Linked DNA regions of Homo sapiens: all the other regions are linked to region 2. Evidence: promoter capture Hi-C in 16 types of primary human blood cells and fetal thymus (Javierre and others, 2016). All regions are on one chromosome and are shown on one strand. The core of a region is centred on a gene start or on the middle of the fragment in contact, and the rest is flanking DNA. Distances in the headings are between cores, read along the strand shown.

Region 1 (2,700 bases), core at 201-2,700, 180 kb after region 2:
ACTCCCTTTACTTGTTGCCTTATCCAGTATAAAACACATAGTATAGTGAATATATTAATGTTTGCATCTCAATATCTTTTTAAACAATGGGCTCTATATGTTTACGCTGTATGACTCTGACAAGTTTTAGTAATTCAGGTAAACAGTTTACGGCTTTGTGAGGTGGGATTTTGATCAAGCGACTTTATTTCTCTGAGCCTCAGTTTCTACATCTGGAAAATGATGACGCTGAACCCAGCAACCTAGTATAAAAGTCTATGCTAGTTATCCGGAATATGCAGCTCTAATGTTGGAGCAGTTTATAAACTAGCACAGAAGTAGATTATTGAAGAGGCCATTTAGCTCACCTTATGGGTTCTGGGATGAATTGTGTGCATATTAGTTAAATGCAAGGACTTTGAAACAGGCTGCATAGGTTCCAATCAATGCTGGCTCTTCTGTGCCTCAGTTTCCTAATCTGTAAAATAAGGATAATAATAGTACCTACCTCTTAGGGGTATTGTAAAGATTAAAATTGCTACTCTCTGTGATGTCTTTATAGCCTTCTATGTTACTGGCACATAGAAACGCTGCAAATTGGAGATAATGCCTTAGCTGAATTAGCCAGAGAAGAACATTTTAGGCAGAAGGAAGAGCAAGAGCAAATTCAGAAAACTTTGACATATGTGCAGCCAACTGTAGGTAATCCAGTATTTCTAGTGCACAAAATGCATAAAGAGGACAAAGACAGAGATGGGTCTGAGGGGGAAACAGAGACCAGTTCATGAAGGCCTTGAATGCCTGTTTGTCTTATTCATCACTTTTTTCTCTATTACCCAACATAATGTCGGTCATAAACTGATATTTAATAAAAGCACTTTGAATGAAAAAATTAATTAGGAGGCTGTAGTATATCTTCCACATGATACAGAGTCTTTGAAAAATTCCATGAGGAGTGTGACATAGTCATATTTACATTGATGTCATTGTATGGAAGGGATTCGTATAGAATGGAGTAGAAAAGGAGTAAGACTGGTCAGTAAGACCAGCTAAGAGGCTACTGAGGAAAAAGACTGAAACTACAGGACTGATAGTAATTGTGAAGAAGAGGGGCCAAAGTTATAAAATATCAGGTGCAGGAAGCAGAAAAGGGGAAGAAATGAAATCAGACTAATACATCCTCTTTCTTTTCTGTTCCTTTCTTATGAGTAGCTCCTATTTCCCACCCCCTCTTCTAAATGTTTTTACTCTATGTTTCTTTTTCTAGGTCAGTTCTTATTTCTATTGGGTGTTTCCATGCTCCACCATGTTAAGAGCTAAGAATCAGCTTTTTTTACTTTCACCTCATTACCTGAGGCAGGTAAAAGAATCATCAGGCTCCAGGCTCATACAGCAACGACTTCTACACCAGCAACAGCCCCTTCACCCAGAATGGGCTGCCCTGGCTAAAAAGCAGCTGAAAGGCAAAAACCCAGAAGACCTAATATGGCACACCCCGGAAGGGATCTCTATAAAACCCTTGTATTCCAAGAGAGATACTATGGACTTACCTGAAGAACTTCCAGGAGTGAAGCCATTCACACGTGGACCATATCCTACCATGTATACCTTTAGGCCCTGGACCATCCGCCAGTATGCTGGTTTTAGTACTGTGGAAGAAAGCAATAAGTTCTATAAGGACAACATTAAGGGTGAGATTTTAATGTAAGACATAATATTTATGATAAGTCATATGCCTCCTAGTTTTTTATTTTTTGGGGGTTAATCTCTGTAAAGATGATATTCACTCTATAATTTTGTAGTTAAAGACTATACTCTGAAAAAAGTGGATTTTTTTAACTTCTGTGGTCAAAAAGATAAGTGAATTAGAATAAGGTGCTAAATTTTTGAAAGAAAACAACACATGCACGTTGTTTAAAAGGAATTAGGTGAGGTAAAGTTGCATGAAGAAAAGAAGACATTAGCTTTGCCTTCGAAAAATGTTCAATTAACATTGTTGGGATAGCGATTGGAGAGGAAGATAGTTTAGATGATGCCCAAAGAAAGTGTAAATGTGATAACGTGGTACAAACATATTCAGTGCAACCTGGCATTCATTCACTGAAAATTATCTTAACTATTATTTCTTCTTTCTGAGCTGTAATAAAATTGTACTGTTTGAATACTAAACTTGTAGATTTATAAGTTTGTATTGCCCATGGAAGGTTGAACTTACATTTAGTATAGACTATTTTAGTTATTTAAAAATTTTGTACGATGGTCATAATTCTGTTTTCCAGAATATTTGAATAGCCAGGAATCCTTTGTGACCATATTAGATAAAAGAACAAAATAGTAAGCAAGCATACAAATGCTAAGTTATTTTTGCCATATATGAACAGCCAGATCTTTTCATGAATTTTAGAAATATTTCAATCAAGTACCATATCTTCAGATAGATACGAGATGATTGAGATTTGTTGTTTCTCCCATTCTTTCCTTTAGTGAGGTCTGGAACTAAATTTGTGCATTTTGGCACAAGGGAAACAACTGACTCTCTTAAGAAGTGAAGTATCTTTATTTAAGTTGGTTTTGACATGTATGAGCATAAAAATAGTTGTTATAAAAGTGTACTGTTATGAGATGAATCAACATTTTTAGTAGTGTTAAAAGTAAATCATTTTACCTTGATTCCAGACTCTTGAATCTTACATTATTTTTCTTTATATATTTAGCTGGTCA
Region 2 (2,700 bases), core at 35-2,534:
ATAAAATTTCAAATATCACTTAGTCCTAACATATCATGTTCTACTGTGGAAAATCATACCAGAAAGACCAAAAAATCCTGCTGCTTTGTTTTATAAATATTTATTACAATGTATGTATCCTGGCAGTCAGTTGCACTCTCTCTCCAAATTCTGCATAGAATCTTTTGGAAATTGGGCTTCATGAAAGAAATTGTATTTAACTGGTAGCTCTTAGTTCTCAAAAACAGGTTTATTCTGCCATGAGAACAATTCCAAAGAGGAGACAAGAATTCCTCCACCTATATGGTAGTTTTGAATTGCTTAGCATCTTATTTACACTTGACTATCTATAAGGATGATAGATTAGTTATGTTCCTGTTTAAGTTTACTCTCTTCCTATTTAAGACTAAAAGATATATCACAACTCATTTGTGTATTTCCATATTTTCACTTGCGTAAATCAGAGTAAGGAGTCAAAAACTTCATAAGTACATAAAACTGCTTACAGTCCTATATATTCCCCATTGCTCATGGGATAATATTTAGCATCTAGCATCCTCGGTACTGAATGTGAGGGTCTTTACAACACAGCCACCTCCATGACAACATTATCTCTGCCACTTCCTCCTTTTCTCTTCATCTCTTTTACATTCCAGCTTTGCTTGACTGATTGCCGTTTCCAAAACATGCCATGTTCTTCCAAGATTTATATCATTCCCTCTTATCTGTTTTACTTGAAAAACCCTATTTATGTTCTAGTTCTCACATCCATATTGTTTTATATGCTAATGTTCTTGGCCTAAGGCAAAAAGTTTCACTGCCTTATTTATGTTTTATAATACTTTTATAACCACTATTATATCACATATTTGTTTTTATATAATCATTCACTTATATTTATGTTTTCCCAACTAGATTCTTAATTTTCTCAAGAAGTTAACAGACCAATTATATATATTGCTTTAGATTCATGCCTTCTACAAAGCCTACCACAATATTTGGTATACAATAAGCCCTCAAGAAATGTCTACTGAATTAAGTTAAACATGATTCTAGAGGCCTGTGCAATAGATTGTTGGCATCATCCAGGTTCTCACAATTTCATTGCATATTCTTCAGATCAACATTTAGAACGACAATTAGATTACAGAGCATAATTTTCCCCAATGGGTGGGGCATTTTAATCAGTCTTGCCCATTTTTTTTTTCTTGTGATGTCATTGGGGTGCCTTGAACATGCAGTCAAATTCCACACACAGAGCAGTCCTTTGTTCTTATCAACATCTCACAGCCTGTGAAGCTCTCAGTGTGCCTCTGTCCTTTGCCACAAACATGAGGTTCACATTCCCTCTCATGGCTATAGTCCTGGAAATTGCCATGATTGTTTTATTTGGATTATTTGTTGAGTATGAAACGGACCAGACTGTTCTCGAGCAGCTCAACATCACCAAGCCAACAGACATGGGCATATTCTTTGAGTTATATCCTCGTGAGTAGGCAATTTACTACTTACTATACATTTTTCGGTTCTTCGGTTTCTCAGAATGTAAAACAATTGAATACTATAAACCCTTGAGCTCTTTGTAGAATTATATGATGGTTATGAGTGCTAAGGATATTACATGTTTGTGATGTGACATCTGGTCTTCTTCTCTGTGATTAAGGTGCTTGGTTGGAACTTTTTCCTATTAAAATATCAGAACAAGAAGCTGAAAATTAAAATAATTGATGCCTTTTGTATTGCTTATCTACTGCTAAATGACCTTTTTCCTTCAGTTGGTCACTAGTTCTGCAAAGAAAAGTATCACGCTTCCTTTGCATTCCCCACTGAAAGGGCCAAAGGTAACTTTGGAGGAGAGAGAGTTCTAAGAATGGAGTTATAAGAAGGGAACCCTAGATTTCATGTGAGGACCCTAAGGAATAAGAAGGGGTATTTAGTATGATGTAGGAAGTTAATGGAGTTTTAATCAAAAAAGTGTACTCAGAGTTTTACAATATTCTGAAAGGAAGTCGGTTTGTTACTTTGAGATGAAAAGAAATGTGTGAATACTTAACATATTTTAAAAACAAAATCCTTCCTTGGGAATGATGATTGAGCAAAGAGAGAAATTTAATTCAAGTTTGGAAGGGTAGGCTGTAAAATAGTTAATATAACAATAACTACCATTTACTGCGTCCTTATTATAAACCAACACATCCATTACCTCATTAGCCAGGAAGGAAGACAGTAGTATGTCACTATTATATAGACTATTTGCTTTTCTTAAGTAAGGTTCAAATAATCTAAAAAATTTAAAAATTATTTAAAATGGTATAATGTTTATTATACTTCATAGCATATGTCTAAGCTTTTTAAAAAACAATTTGACACCCTTTTTTTTATTCCAACATTTTTTGAGGGAATTAATATGATGGGGGTATTCCCATGTAGAAATAATGGCCTAGAGTTGCTAAGTGACATAGGAAAAATATAAAATTGAAAGCTAAGGACAGAGTTAGGGTAATAAGACAGAGAAAACTAGACTCCAAGTCTAGCTGTCTTTACACTGCATAGATGTCTGAGAGGGTTCTTGATTAAATAAGTTTTATAGTTTGCAAGTTAGAGAATAAAACAGAAAAAATTCTGTTCATCTATGTATGCTTTTGTACATTTCATTCATTCATCCATTTATTCATTTAGTACATATTTTATTAAGCACTAAGCATGTGCTACAGCAAATTT
Region 3 (2,892 bases), core at 324-2,823, 130 kb before region 2:
CCATAAAAAATGATGAGTTCATGTCCTTTGTAGGGACATGGATGAAGCTGAAAACCATCATTCTCAGCAAACTATTGCAAGGACAAAAAACCAAACACTGCATGTTCTCACTCATACATGGGAATTGAACAATGAGAACACATGGACACAGGAAGGGGACCATCACACACCGGGGCCTGTTGTGGGGTGGGGGGAGGGGGGAGGGATAGCATTAGGAGATATACCTAATGCTAAATGACGAGTTAATGGGTGCAGCTCACCAACATGGCACATGTATACATATGTAACAAACCTGCACGTTGTGCACATGTACCCTAAAACTTAAAGTATAATAAAAAATAAAATAAAATAAAAATAAAAATTAAGCCAAATCAACATCAACATAACCTAAAACAAATAATAAAATAAAAATACTAATGATTTATGACTGTGGTCCAAAGAATCATGAGACTTTCAGATTGAAGAACATTATCAACAAGTGGGACAACAAGATTAGAACCATGTTCAACTGAAAAAAAAATAAGCCAACAAATATATGATTGACATGCACAAACTAACCTATTTTTTAATTTATTTCCTCACAGAATTTTTAATAACTAGAAATTATAATAATTCAATAAGTGGAGTAATAAATGTCATGAAATTAATTATATTCTGAAGACAAATTTGATTTCTCTTTTGTGGTCCCTCTGGTTCTTCAGATATTTTCATTTGGTAAAAACAAATTATGTAAGCAAAAACACTTTTTTTCTGATTATAAATATAATCCACACTATTTTCAAATGTGCAGTGAATACTACACATTAACAGCATGCTACTAATTAAACAATTCCTGGGAAAGCACAGAGTTTGAAAGCAAAATGTGAAAATGGTTTAATAGACTGTCAGACACCCTTCTACTGAATCTCTGATTCTACCATCCACATAGAGACAGATGAAACCAGGAAATAGGGAGATATTTTTAACTTCGCACTACACTACCTCCTTTTTGAAGTCATCGGCCCCTTCCAACTTTCTTACCACACAACACAGGTAGTCTTTTTGGAGTCAAGTACCATTTTCAATCTTCAATCATTTTCAATACTCTCCTCAACAGCAGATTACATAATTCCTCTACAACCTCTCAAATCACTGTTTTTTAAATCTGTCCTATATTCCCTACTGCCTCTTGAAGAACGTGGTCTCCAGGTTTATTTTAAATGCAAGTAACTTAAAGTATGCCTGAATATGTGCTAGAAATTCAGTATAGCAGATATAATTATTGTGAATCTTCACCAATTTCACCCCATATATACAGGATTGAAGAGCAATCTAAAGAGGAGAAATGGGTACTGGAGCCCATGTAGGTACCTATCTTGGCATGGGCAACATTTTCTGCATGTCACTGTAGACCCAGTTGGTCTCAGCCACAAGAATAGGACTTAGAAATTTTCAAGGGAATCATTCCAAAGTACAATAATCCACCGGGACCCAAATTACTGTCCAAGGAGTTATTTTATCAGTGCATTTATAGATAACATTGAGCTCATTTACAAGAAATTCTTACTTCCTTATTTTTTCAATTTATCAACCTTTAATTTGCTTTGTCATGTAATCGCAAATTCATTTAAGGTTATTTCCCTCTTTCTCTTATCATATACAAATATGTCTGGTCTCTAACTATACTAATCCTATTTTTTCTGGTGTCTGTCTATACTTCTGTTCTTTTATTTTCTATACTTCCTGTAAATAAGGGCTTGTGATGTTCTTATGTTGTTAAATACAAATCTATTCATAAAAAGAGGCTGTAAGTATCTGAGAATTTCATTACATTTTCTGGTGTAGTTGTAGAACAAAATTTTTGAATTAAAGTATATGTAACATATTACGAATTACTTTCATTTAATTTCTCTGTTAAATTATATATTATATATTATATATTATATTAACATCACTCTTTTAAAAAATGTTCAGTACTGTTCTTAGTATTATATTAGTTAATAACATAATATATAACATATATTACATAATATATAGTAACTCTCCATGGTTACTATAAAACGGGCATGGACTGTGTATCCATGTTAAGGGATGGATTAGAAAACAGATAATATATGTTATATATTATGTTATTAACATCAATCTTAAAAAAAAATGTTTAGCAAGCAGGGCCCCTGCCCCTATATCTGAATCTCAGGGGACTGCTTTTATTTAAAGTACCTTTCTTGAAAATATCTAAGTCTCCCTTCTGTGGCTGGGATAGGCTGGGGCCAGTGGTACTGTCCTAGAAGTGTGCTCCAAGCAAAGTCTAGGACTTGAGTGGCTATTAGTCTCCATTTCTCCCCCTTTGAGCTGCTGTCCAAATCTCTGCTCCATACATGGGATCTAGTTGCCCCCAAAGGCATCATGATTGAATCTATAGGTTGTCTCAGCCTTTGTGGCAAGGCCTCAGTTCCAAGTAGGCTGCCTGTGAGTGGATCACTCCCAACTGCCTGTGTGTGTGTGTGTGTGAGTGTGTGTGTGTGTGTGTTTTATCGGGATTAAATAATATTGGGCCACTAGGACTCTGCTTACTTGCTGATTTTAGGTAAGTCAAGTAGTTTAAATAAAAAGAGGCACCACAAAAACTATATTCTCAGGGCTTTGCACACTCTAGAAGTCAAGGATATATTATTATCCCTGCATTTATTTCCAGAATAATGTCTGTCAGGGAGTGGTATTTAAAATTTACGATAAGAAGAAAGCATTGGATCTGATAGGGTTGAGAACCACTATATCAGACTAATTATAGGGAGACATTACGTCTTATTACTGCAATCTTATCAAAGGTCATAGAATAGGAAGGAAGTTTCTGAGCATAGAGTCTCTATGGAGAACTTAAGCATTGCTCTTCTCTTCATAACAAGAATCCTA
Region 4 (2,823 bases), core at 228-2,727, 150 kb before region 2:
GTGAAAATGGCCACACTGCCCAAGGTAATTTATAGATTCAATACCAGCCCCATCAAGCTACCAATGACTTTCTTCACAGAATTGGAAAAAACTACTTTAAAGTTCATGTGGAACCAAAAAAGAGCCCGCATTGCCAAGTCAATCCTAAGCCAAAAGAACAAAGCTGGAGGCATCACACTACCTGACTTCAAACTATACTACAAGGCTACAGTAACCAAAACAGCATGGTACTGGTACCAAAACAGAGATGTAGATCAATGGAACAGAACAGAGCCCTCAGAAATAACGCCGCATATCTACAACTATCTGATCTTTGACAAACCTGAGAAAAGCAATGGGGAAAGGATTCCCTATTTAATAAATGGTGCTGGGAAAACTGGCTAGCCATATGTAGAAAGCTGAAACTGGATCCCTTCCTTACACCTTATACAAAAATTAATTCAAGATGGGTTAAAGACTTAAACGTTAGACCTAATACCATAAAAACCCTAGAAGAAAACCTAGGCATTACCATTCAGGACATAGGCATGGGCAAGGACTTCATGTCTAAAACACCAAAAGCAATGGCAACAAAAGACAAAATTGACAAATGGGGTCTCATTAAACTAAAGAGCTTCTGCACAGCAAAAGAAACTACCATCAGAGTGAACAGGCAACCTACAAAATGGGAGAAAATTTTTGCAACCTACTCATCTGACAAAGGGCTAATATCCAGAATCTACAATGAACTCAAACAAATTTACAAGAAAAAAACAAACAACCCCATCAAAAAGTGGGCAAAGGACATGAACAGACACTTCTCAAAAGAAGACATTTATGCAGCCAAAAAACACATGAAAAAATGCTCACCATCACTGGTCATTAGAGAAATGCAAATCAAAACCACAATGAGATACCATTTCACACCAGTTAGAATGGCAATCATTAAAAAGGCAGGAAACAACAGGTGCTGGAGAGGATGTGGAGAAATAGGAACACTTTTACACTGTTGGTGGGACTGTAAGCTAGTTCAACCATTGTGGAAGTCAGTGTGGCGATTCCTCAGGGATCCAGAACTAGAAATACCATTTGACCCAGCCATCCCATTACTGGGTATATACCCAAAGGACTATAAATCATGCTGCTATAAAGACACATGCACACATATGTTTATTGCGGCATTATTCACAATAGCAAAGACTTGGAACCAACCCAAATGTCCAACAATGATAGACTGGATTAAGATAATGTGGCACATATACACCATGAATACTATGCAGCCATAAAAAATGATGAGTTCATGTCCTTTGTAGGGACATGGATGAAATTGGAAATCATCATTCTCAGTAAACTATCACAAGAACAAAAAACCAAATACCGCATATTCTCACTCATAGGTGGGAATTGAACAATGAGAACACATGAACACAGGAAGGGGAACATCACACTCTGGAGACTGTTGTGGGGTGGGGGCAGGGGGGAGGGATAGCATTGGGAGATATACCTAATGCTAGATGACGAGTTAGTGGGTGCAGTGCACCAGCATAGCATATGTATACATATGTAACTAACCTGCACATTGTGCACATGTACCCTAAAACTTAAAGTATAATAATAATAATAATAATAATAAAGAAAAAAAAGAAGAATAGATAAGTAGATGGAGGAACAAATGCAAAAAAGTATACTTTAAAAGAAATGCATTGGCTAATTCATACATAATGTTATCGTGTGAATTATTATGTTGTTTTCAAACTAATTCTGCACTGTGTAAAAAGTTATATATTAGGTTGACGCAAGAGTAGCGGTTTTCGCCATTGAAAGGGAGAGATAGCACCATACAGCCACCTTAGTCTACCTTTTACAATGATCCCAAAAACTCATGGAAACATTTTCAAATGCATAAATTGAAGTTTGCTGCTATTATTAATAGGGACATTTACAAATTCATAAACAATTTAAAAATTGTTTTTAAATTGTTAAAAGAAGGATTGGTGTGTTTCGAAATATTAAAAATTAGTGACTAAAATGACACAATATGTACATGAGAATATACATACCTATAGATTATTAGTCATTTCAGCACCCAGAACTCTGCATAACGTATGGAATATATATTTGCATATTTTACAATCATTGTCAATGGAAAGGTGAATTGAAGGTAAACTGCCCCAAATATTTCACAGGCTTCCTAATAGAAAGAATAATAGATTATATCCATAACATGTTTCAATTTTCAAAGAAAATGGATAACCTATAATGAAATCTTTCCATCATAGACTTTAATCAGTCACCACCATGAGCAAATACTAGTAGCTAAGTAAGCAGCCCTTAAAAGACCTGGAGAGAAACAGAGGACATTTGCATAAAGAAAACCTGGAAAACCTGTCCAAGAACAGGAGAACGTAGAGACATTGATACTGTGAACATAGATGAAAACTGGATTTAGTCAAGAAGACATTTCAGCCTCTATGTGGGATGATACGTGGTAACAGGATTTTAATTTTGAAAGACAAGGTCCTCAGAGCTTGATGCTGTTACATGAAGACAGATCTTGGGGAAGTGGTGACAAAATGCCCTTGTGGTTTAGCTCAGTGCAGAGCACACTGCAAATCTTCTTTACAGAAAGGTGCCAAAACAGAAGAGTATATTTTCCTTTTGGGTCTTTCAAATCTAGTATTTGTAAATCATGGTGAATAGTAATTTGAATACTCAGAATCTATTTATCACTACATTCAAACAGTCCATTAAGCTCCACCTCTAGTAGAGGAATGTGTCTACATACATTATTTGGAATTCCTCTGTAGAGAAGTTTTGTCCTTTCCCCCACCCCCACTTATTTAT
Region 5 (2,748 bases), core at 125-2,624, 230 kb before region 2:
AAAGGCATTGCAGCCTCTCCTGTGTTCTTGCATCATTTGCTCAGGGGTAGGTGACTGTCAAGTTATAAGGATAATCAGAAGCCCTGTGGAAAGGCCAATCTGGAGAGCAACTAGGGCTTCGCACCAACAAACAGCACCAACTTGCAAGTCATATAAGTAAATCAATTTGGAAGCAGGAAAGCCATCAGAGATATAAATGTCTGCAGCCTCAACTGACAACTGATTGCAATCAATGAGGCACCATAAACCAAATGTGCTCAGTCAAGCCATCCTTGAATTACTGATTCCCAGAAACCAAGAGACCACATTTATTGCTTTAAATCATTGAGCCTTGGGATTATTTATTATGAGAAGTAGACAACTAAAACAAAGTTGAATAGAAGGATAAATGTATATTGACTTTCATTCTGATTATGAAAGCTATAAATTGTAGAAGAAGAGGGGGGAAATTTCAAAGGGCCATTAATCTCCCAGGGTTCTTAAAATTCAAATTCAGAAACTGACTTTGGCTTTATTTTATGTGCAACATAAGTTTGAATTTGTTAAAGTCTAGAGTACTTTTTGGCCTGAGTTTCTGAGCAAGTCTGGAGTCATTGAGCCCTTGCAACATACAGGACTTTGAAGCATAAGCACAATTTTACTGAGTGGTATGAAGAAGCAATGAGACACAAATGGGATTGTTGTAGGTAAGAGTTCAGTCATGGAGAAAGTGAAGGGAAAGGAGAGGATGTCTGTGTCCAGTGGATAATTAGAATAAAGCCACAGCCAGAATATATGCAAAATTATTTTACAAATATGATTTTAAAATCACATTTAACACATGAATGCTTCCTTCAACATGTATTATATATCTGGGCTTTCTAAAATTTTTGTTAGCCAATCTCTGAGTAAATGATTGATTTAAAGTTTCTTTTAAAAATGGATATATTCAGACAAACATGATGTGATTGTAAACACATTAGCCTTTATCTATCTCTCAAGATTTTTCTGGGATAATCCAGTTAGAAATATTCTATCATGTTATGATATGCTAGATAAATGTGTCAGATTATTATTTTAGGGAAAAAAGTTATTGTAGATAGTTTCCTACTATGCTAAAAAGCTTAAACAGAAAGAGAACAATCTATGAAAATAGGAAATTTATGAACAGAAACAGCCAACTGGCACCCATGTTTGGGACTCACATGCAAATCAAGTTATTCCTTGCTTTCCAACACTTCCCAAATTCTTTTAAAACCATATATGAAGCTGGATAGCAACTCTATATGAAGACATCAGTGCTATAAATACAGACAGCATTGTGTTGGGTAGAGCAATGCCAGGAATTGCCAGGACCAACAGATAAAACCAGAGCAATTAAGTTTCCATAAACACTTGACTTGATGTTGAATCAACACTCTCCTTTATAAACAGCAGTTTAGCAAGAAATAAATGACAATTATACATTTCTAATATATAAACCATGCTGGTTTGGTGAAGTAATAGCATTCTTTTGCAGCTTTCTTTTTACAATGTAGTTTGTTGGAGAAAGTTGCTCAATAATTTGGAAGTGTTAATTTCAAGATCATGTAAAATTCTTTAAAGCCAATTAAAGTTAAGCTAAAGATAATTCATCTTATCTATGAAAGAGTTTACAGATAAGCTTTTCTATGTTTTTAGATTAACACCATCTCCCTCAACCAAAAGAGAAATTCTTCTAGGTATAGGTGAGCAATTTTTAGTGATGTTTAGTTCTCCTTTCCTGCAGATGGTTTTCTGGACATTCATTATATACTTTAACAAGACCAGAAAGTTCTATCTTAAGAGACTCTGATCTTTCTTTTAATTTTTATTTCCTAACCCTCACCCCAGAACTAACACAAAATAACTTATGACTACACAATTCTTACCTTATTTTTACTCTTTCCTTTTAGATATTCAATTGCCCTTTCTTAAGCAAGATACAAGAAAAATATTTTTTATTAAATAATAATGTATTCTTTCTTACAAAGAACAAAGACTTAATTCATAATTTTAAAAAGAGGCCAGCAAGCTATGACTTCAATATAAGCGACCATGCACTCACATATACAAACATTTCCCAACTTTTCAGAATAATAAGACAATTCAAAAACATCTGATTACACCTAGTTTCAGAGTAAATTTTCTATTCTCATATGTGATTTCTGTCTGTGTGATATTTCTTTCTTTGTTCTAAGTGTCCTGTGATATTTCTCATCATGTGACTCAAATGATTTCTGGAATTTTTAGTGTTTTACAATTTAGTGTTCAGTATTTCTAGACCTCTCAAGGTAGTTAGTTGCTTCCACATTGTTTCTGGACAAATCTCTATTAGAATTCTCCCAAATTGCAGAAGTTTTCCTTTTAACCAGGAAGGTCTTAGGAAAATGGACTACTTATCTTTTCATTCCCAGAGCCTCTCCAAGTATGTGACACATTATAGAACAGTTACCAAACTCCATAAGATTGTGTAGTTTATATGTTTGGTGATTCTATGTATCCTCAGCATCTAGAAGAGAGCATAAATCATCTTAAGACCTCAATAAATAATTACTGAATGAATTTAATAAAGTTGAGAAGTTTCTGGACCAGCAAGTCATTTTCCCTTACAGTGACCTTTGTTATCTGATTGTGGCTCTGCTGAATCATGCAACTAATCTTTGCAGTTAGTTCCCAGGGTAAAAGTTTAAAATTGGTGAGTTCCATTGATGATGTTGCCTTGGTTACAAACTAGAAATGTCCCCATAA
Region 6 (2,994 bases), core at 187-2,686, 170 kb before region 2:
AGGGAATTATTTCCCTATTGCTTAATTTTGTCAGGTTTGTTAAAAATCAGATGGTAGTAGATGTGCAGTCTTATTTCTGAGTTCTCTATTCTGTTCCATTGGTCTATGTGTCTGTTTTTGTACTGATACCATGCTGTTTTGGTTACTGTAGCCTTGTAGTATAGTTTGAAGTTGGGTAGCATGATGCCTCCAGCTTTGTTCTTTTTGCTTAGGATTATCTTGGCTATATGAGCTCTTTTTCGGTTCCATAGTTTATTTCTAATTCTGTGAAGAATGTAAAATGGTAGTTAAATGGGAATAACATTTAATCTATAAATTACTTTGGGCAGTATGGCCATTTTCATGATACTGTTTCTTTTTATCCATGAGCATAAAATGATTTTCCATTTGTTTGTGTCCTCTCTGATTTCCCAGAGCAGTGGTTTGTAGTTCTCCTTGAAGAGGTCCTTCACTTCCCATGTTAGCTGTATTCCTAGGTATTTTATTCTCTTTGTAGCAATTGTAAATGGGAGCTCATTTATGATTTGGCTCTCCGCTTGCCTGTTCTTGATGTGTATAGGAATGGCAGCAATTTTTGCACATTGATTTTGTATCCTGGGACTGCTGAATTTCCTTATCAGCTTAAGAAGCTTTTGGGCTGAGACAATAGGGTTTCCTAGATATAGGATCATGTCATCTGCAAAGATAATTTGACTGTCTTTCTTTCCATTTGAATATGCTTTATTTCCTTCCCTTGCCAGATTGCCCTGGCCTGAACTTTCAAAACTATGTTGAATAGGAGTGGTGAGAGAGGGCATCCATGCCTTGTGCCAGTTTTCAAGAGGAATGCCTCCAGCTTTTGCCCACTCAGTATGATATTGGCTGTGGTTTTGTCATATATGGCTGTTATTATTTTGAGGTATGTGTACTAGTCCATTTTCATACTGCTACGAAGAAATATTCAAACTGGGTAATTTATAAAGAAAAAGAGGTTTAATGGACTCAGTTCCACATGACTGAGAAGGCCTCACAATTATTGCAGAAGGCCAAGGAGGAGCAAGGGCATATCTTATATGGTGGCAGGCAAGAGAGCATGTGCAGACACTCAATGTGAGCTCGTGAAAGCGGCTGGGAGAGGGGATGTACCCTGCAAAGTCACAGGGGCAGAGCTGCCCAAGGCCATGGAAGCCCACCTCTTGAATCAGCATGACCTGGATGTGAGACATGGAGTCAAAGGAAATCATTTTGAAACTTTAAGGGTTAATGACTGCCCATTTGTATTTCAAGAGAAGGTTGTTCAATTTCTACGTAGTTGTGTGGTTTTCAGTGAGTTTCTAATTTGATTGTGCTGTGGTCTGAGAGGCTGTTATGATTTTAGTTCTTTTGCATTTGCTGAGAAGTGTTTTGCTTCCAATTATGTGATCAATTTTAGAGTAAGTGCCATGTGGCAATGAGAAAACGTATATTCTGTTGAATTTGGGTGGAGAGTTCTGTAGATATCTATCAGGTGCACTTAATCCAGAACTGAATTCAGGTCCTGAATATCTTTGTTAATTTTCTGTCCCAATGATCTGTCTAATATTGTCAGTGGGGTATCAAAGGCTCCCACTATTATTGTGTAGAAGTCTAAGTCTCTTTGAAAGTCTCTAGGGACTTGCTCTGTGAGTCTGGGTGCTTATGTGTTGGGTGCATATATATTTAGGATAGTTAGCTCTTCTTGATGAATTGAACCCATTACCATTATGTAGTGCTCTTCTTTGTCTTTTTTGAATTTTGTTGGTTTAAAGTCTGTTTTGTCAGAAATTAGGATTGCAACCCCTGCTTTTTTCTGTTTTCCATTTGCTTCCTAAATTCTCCTCCATCCCTTTATTTTGAGCCTTTGTGTGTGTTTGCACATGAGGTGAGATGGGTCTCTTGAATACATCGCACTGATGGGTCTTGACTGTTTATCCAGTTTGCCATTCTGTGTCTTTTAATTGTGGCATTTAGCCCATTTACATACAAGGTTAGTATTGTTATGTGTTAATTTGTTCCTGTCACCATGATGCTAGCTGGTTATTTTGCAGACTTATTTATGCAGTTGCTTCATAGTGTCATTGTCTGTGTACTTCAGTGTGTTTTTGTAGTGGATGGTAACAGTTTTTCTATTCCATATTTAGTGCTTCCTTCAGGAGCTCTTACAAGGCAGGCCTGGTGGTGATGGACTTCCTCAGCATTTGCTTGTCTGAAAACAATCTTATTTCTCCTTCACTTAGGAAGCTTAGTTTGGCCAGACACAAAATTCTGGGTTGGACATTCTTTTACTTCAGAATGTTGAATATTGGCCCCCAATCTCTTCTGGCTTACAGAGTTTCTGCTGAGAGGTCTGCTGTTAGTCTGATGGGTTTCCGTTTGTAGGTGACCTAGCCTTTCTCTTTGGCTGCCCTTAACATTTTTTCTTTCATTTCAACCGTGGAGAATCTGAGAATTAGGTGTCTTGGGGTTGATCTCATGGAGTATCTTACCGGACTTCTCTGGATTTCCTGAATTTGAATGTTGGCCTGTCTTGCTAGGTTGAAGTCCTCCTGGATGATATCCTGAAGTATGTTTTCCAACTTGGTTTTGTTCTCCCCGTCTCTTTCAGGTACTCCAATCAGTCATAGGTTTTTTTTTTTTTTTTTTTTTTTACATAATCTCATATTTCTCAGAGGTTTTGTTCATGTCTTTTCATTCTTTTTTCTCTATTCTTTTCTGCTTGTCTTATTTCAGAAAGACAGTCTTCAAGCTCTGAGATTCTTTCCTCCACCTGGCCTATTTGGCTGTTGATACTTATGATTGCACTGGGAAGTTTTGTTGTGTTTTTCTGCTCCATCAGGTCATTTATATTCCTCCCTAAACTGGCTATTCTGGTTATCATCTCCTGTAATTTTATATCATTATTATTAGCTTCTTTCCATTGGGTTAGAACATGCTCCTTTAGCCCAGTGAAGTTCATTATTACCCACAGTCTGAAGCCTATTTCTGTCAATTCAGCCA
Region 7 (2,700 bases), core at 34-2,533, 190 kb before region 2:
ATTTGCACATTTTTAATGTGTTTTAATTTTAATGTGTGTATCACTTTGTATAGTTTCTCCTAGTGGTTACTCTACATATATATGTGTGTGTGTGTGTACTATATATATACTTAAATTATCAGTCTACTTGTATTGATATTTTGTCACTTAGAGTGAAGGGTAGAAACCTCACTTTTATTTAGGTACCTTTCCCTCCCACTTTAACAATATATTTATACTAAGTACTAACTTTACATATACTAAACATCACCATGTGTGGTGTAACAATTTTCGCTTCAACCAACAAATATTTTAAGAAAATCATGAAGAGAAAAGTCTCTTGTATTTAACTCTCATTTTTATCCATTCTGATATTTTCTTTTCTGAATTTTTAAAACTTCTCTTATCATCTCTTTTAATTTTTATCTAGAGAACATCCTTTAGCCTTCCTTTAAGAGTAGGCTTACAAATAAATTATCTGACTGTTCTTTATGTGAGAATGCCTTTATTTTCCCTTTATTCCTGAAGTATACTTTCACCGGATATAGGATTCAGGATTAATCATTTTTTTAAGCATTTGTAAAGCACGCCACTCTCTTCTGAACTCTGTGGTTTCAGAAGAGAAATCTACTGTCACTAAAATTGTTATTCCTCCATAGTTATATATTGTTTCTCTCTATTAAATTTTTTCATTGGCTTTAATTTTTCAGAAGTTTGTAAGGTGTTATGGCCCCTGTGCTGAGTTCTACTGAAGCCATTCCAAGCATTTTGTGGACAGTCTTTTCATTGTCTGTCTGGAGTCAGACAGTTATGGCTAAAAATTTTTTTCTTTTTTATTATTTCACCCTTCTTAACCCTTTGGCTGAGTTGAGCAGGCTTCCCTTGTTCTGTTTCGGTTTGTTTGTTTTAATTTTTGTCTGATCCTGTTAGTGGTTCTGGGGTTGAGACTTCTGCAGTGCTCTGTCTAGTATATATGGGAAGCAAAAAGGAAACTCAGAGAAGTCATTTTCATGCTGATACTCAAGTCCAAGGTCCTTACACAGTCTGCTTTCTTAGTTTCACTTCTAGAGTCTTCCTATGCTTGTTTGTTATGTATGCTCAAGTTTTTCAGTTTTAAGAAGGAGGACCTGAGAGAATGTGGCTCCTCTATCTTGGCCATTACCCTACCACTAAGTGAACCTGCATTTTTTTGCTTGAATGAATTAAGATTTTGCTTAAGTTCGCCGTGTAGCAGGTCAATTATCTACAGATGCAAGAAAACAGAGGTTTCCTGACCTGCTATATATATCACAAGCAATTCTTCTAATTGGTGGGGCTTTAAAATCTGGGTAAAAAGTTCTTCACTGTGGTTCAGGGCTATGAAACATATTTGTAAGCTGACAAATCACTATGGCATATGGTATGTGTAAACCCTCTCGATAGAAAAAATTCTGTCAAGAAGTTGCTCTCAACTGAACAATAAAGAACTAAACGTTTGAGGCATCCTTTTATTAGTATTGTCTATTTCTATTTGTTATGAATCTTTGTTATTTTCTTTAAAACAATTATTACTCTGTCAAGCGCATTTGCAAACTACTTATATGGAATGTTATAGTTCAGCATCTATACTGTATAAAAATTGCAAATATACGAAGAAGAAGCACCTACAGTATGTGATCATTCGCGAGTCAAGCTCCTGCTTTTCAGTTGCCTTCAGAAAATTCTAAAATGCTGAAGGTAGCGTATTTATTGATGGTACCACTAATATAAATATGGACACAGTCTATTGGAAAAGATAACTTAAAAGATAAAACAATGCCACAAAGAAACAACAAAGGATTTCTCCAGTATAATCTGAACCATGGTAATATTTTCAACAAGCAATATCTAATAATATCTGTTTAATGCACAAACCATTTTGTTTTGAACAAATACAAGTAATTTGAGCTTTTTTTAAATATGGTCATAAGTTACCCATTTGCTATTAATTGTATATTAATATTCATCTTTCAGGTTTTCACCTCCTTTAGTAGTCTTCATCTGTTTGTTAAAAATGTCTTAACTTTTCTTCCATAAACCCCTTTACATGAGCATGTACTCGTAGAAACTCCTGGACCTGCAGTTTTCTTTGCTCCTGAATTCTTTCCTACAACATATTTCATATATTATAATATTTTTAAAAATAATTTAGGTTAGCTGAGGATCTATTTTTCTACTTTTCCCCTTACAGTAAGATAATTTATCAAATATTATTTACCCTATAAACTATTTTCTCTTTTCATTTATTTATTTATTTGATTTTTATGTTTTGTGTATATATAGTAGGTGTCTATATTTATGGGGTACATAAGATGTTTTGATACAGACATGCAATGTCAAATAAGCACATCATGGAGAATGGGGTATTCATCTCCTCAAGCATTTATCCTTTGAGTTACAAACAATCCAATTACACTCTTTTAAATTATCTTAAAATGTACAATTATTATTGACTATAGTCACTCTATTGTGCTATCAAACAGTAGGACTTATTCATTCTTTCTAGCTATTTTTGTACCCATTAACCACCCCTACCTGCTCCCCAACCCCCAACTACCCTACGCAGCCTCTGGTAACCATCCTTCTATTATCTATGTCCATTGGTTCAATTGCTATGATTTTTAGATCCCACAAATGTGAGAACATGTGATGTTTATCTTTCTGTGCCTGGATTATTTCACTTAACATAATAATCTCTAGTTC

The links. The method cuts DNA at HindIII sites, captures the fragments that hold promoters and counts their contacts. A CHiCAGO score of 5 or more calls a contact.
Region 1: a fragment that was not itself captured here is called in contact with the fragment with the promoter of RHAG in region 2 in 1 of 17 cell types (erythroblasts); the score reaches 5.3 in erythroblasts.
Region 3: a contact is called between a fragment that was not itself captured here and the fragment with the promoter of RHAG in region 2, in 2 of 17 cell types (erythroblasts and megakaryocytes). The highest score is 23.9, in erythroblasts.
Region 4: a fragment that was not itself captured here is called in contact with the fragment with the promoter of RHAG in region 2 in 2 of 17 cell types (erythroblasts and megakaryocytes); the score reaches 8.8 in erythroblasts.
Region 5: a fragment that was not itself captured here is called in contact with the fragment with the promoter of RHAG in region 2 in 3 of 17 cell types (megakaryocytes, erythroblasts and endothelial precursors); the score reaches 13.2 in megakaryocytes.
Region 6: a contact is called between a fragment that was not itself captured here and the fragment with the promoter of RHAG in region 2, in 2 of 17 cell types (erythroblasts and megakaryocytes). The highest score is 10.4, in erythroblasts.
Region 7: a fragment that was not itself captured here is called in contact with the fragment with the promoter of RHAG in region 2 in 2 of 17 cell types (erythroblasts and megakaryocytes); the score reaches 29.6 in erythroblasts.

Annotation. Positions count from the first base shown.
Region 1 is chr6:49,458,052-49,460,751 of GRCh38, reverse strand. MMUT (methylmalonyl-CoA mutase) reads left to right here. Exons shown (of 13, transcript NM_000255.4): 2 at 1,247-1,670; 3 at 2,694-2,700. The coding sequence starts at 1,286. Among named protein-coding and RNA genes, the nearest start is that of MMUT, 3.9 kb to the left of the region's middle. The HindIII fragment of the contact is 2,992 bases long and covers 1-2,700 here.
Region 2 is chr6:49,635,423-49,638,122 of GRCh38, reverse strand. RHAG (Rh associated glycoprotein) reads left to right here and starts at 1,284. Exons shown (of 10, transcript NM_000324.3): 1 at 1,284-1,467. The coding sequence starts at 1,311. The HindIII fragment of the contact is 2,886 bases long and covers 1-2,328 here.
Region 3 is chr6:49,768,672-49,771,563 of GRCh38, reverse strand. No RefSeq gene overlaps it. Among named protein-coding and RNA genes, the nearest start is that of PGK2, 17 kb to the left of the region's middle. The HindIII fragment of the contact is 4,649 bases long and covers 1-2,892 here.
Region 4 is chr6:49,790,267-49,793,089 of GRCh38, reverse strand. No RefSeq gene overlaps it. Among named protein-coding and RNA genes, the nearest start is that of PGK2, 4.4 kb to the right of the region's middle. The HindIII fragment of the contact is 4,478 bases long and covers 1-2,823 here.
Region 5 is chr6:49,866,653-49,869,400 of GRCh38, reverse strand. It overlaps a transcript of CRISP1 not described here. Among named protein-coding and RNA genes, the nearest start is that of CRISP1, 1.5 kb to the right of the region's middle. The HindIII fragment of the contact is 540 bases long and covers 1,105-1,644 here.
Region 6 is chr6:49,806,646-49,809,639 of GRCh38, reverse strand. No RefSeq gene overlaps it. Among named protein-coding and RNA genes, the nearest start is that of PGK2, 21 kb to the right of the region's middle. The HindIII fragment of the contact is 1,609 bases long and covers 632-2,240 here.
Region 7 is chr6:49,825,566-49,828,265 of GRCh38, reverse strand. No RefSeq gene overlaps it. Among named protein-coding and RNA genes, the nearest start is that of CRISP1, 40 kb to the left of the region's middle. The HindIII fragment of the contact is 2,934 bases long and covers 1-2,700 here.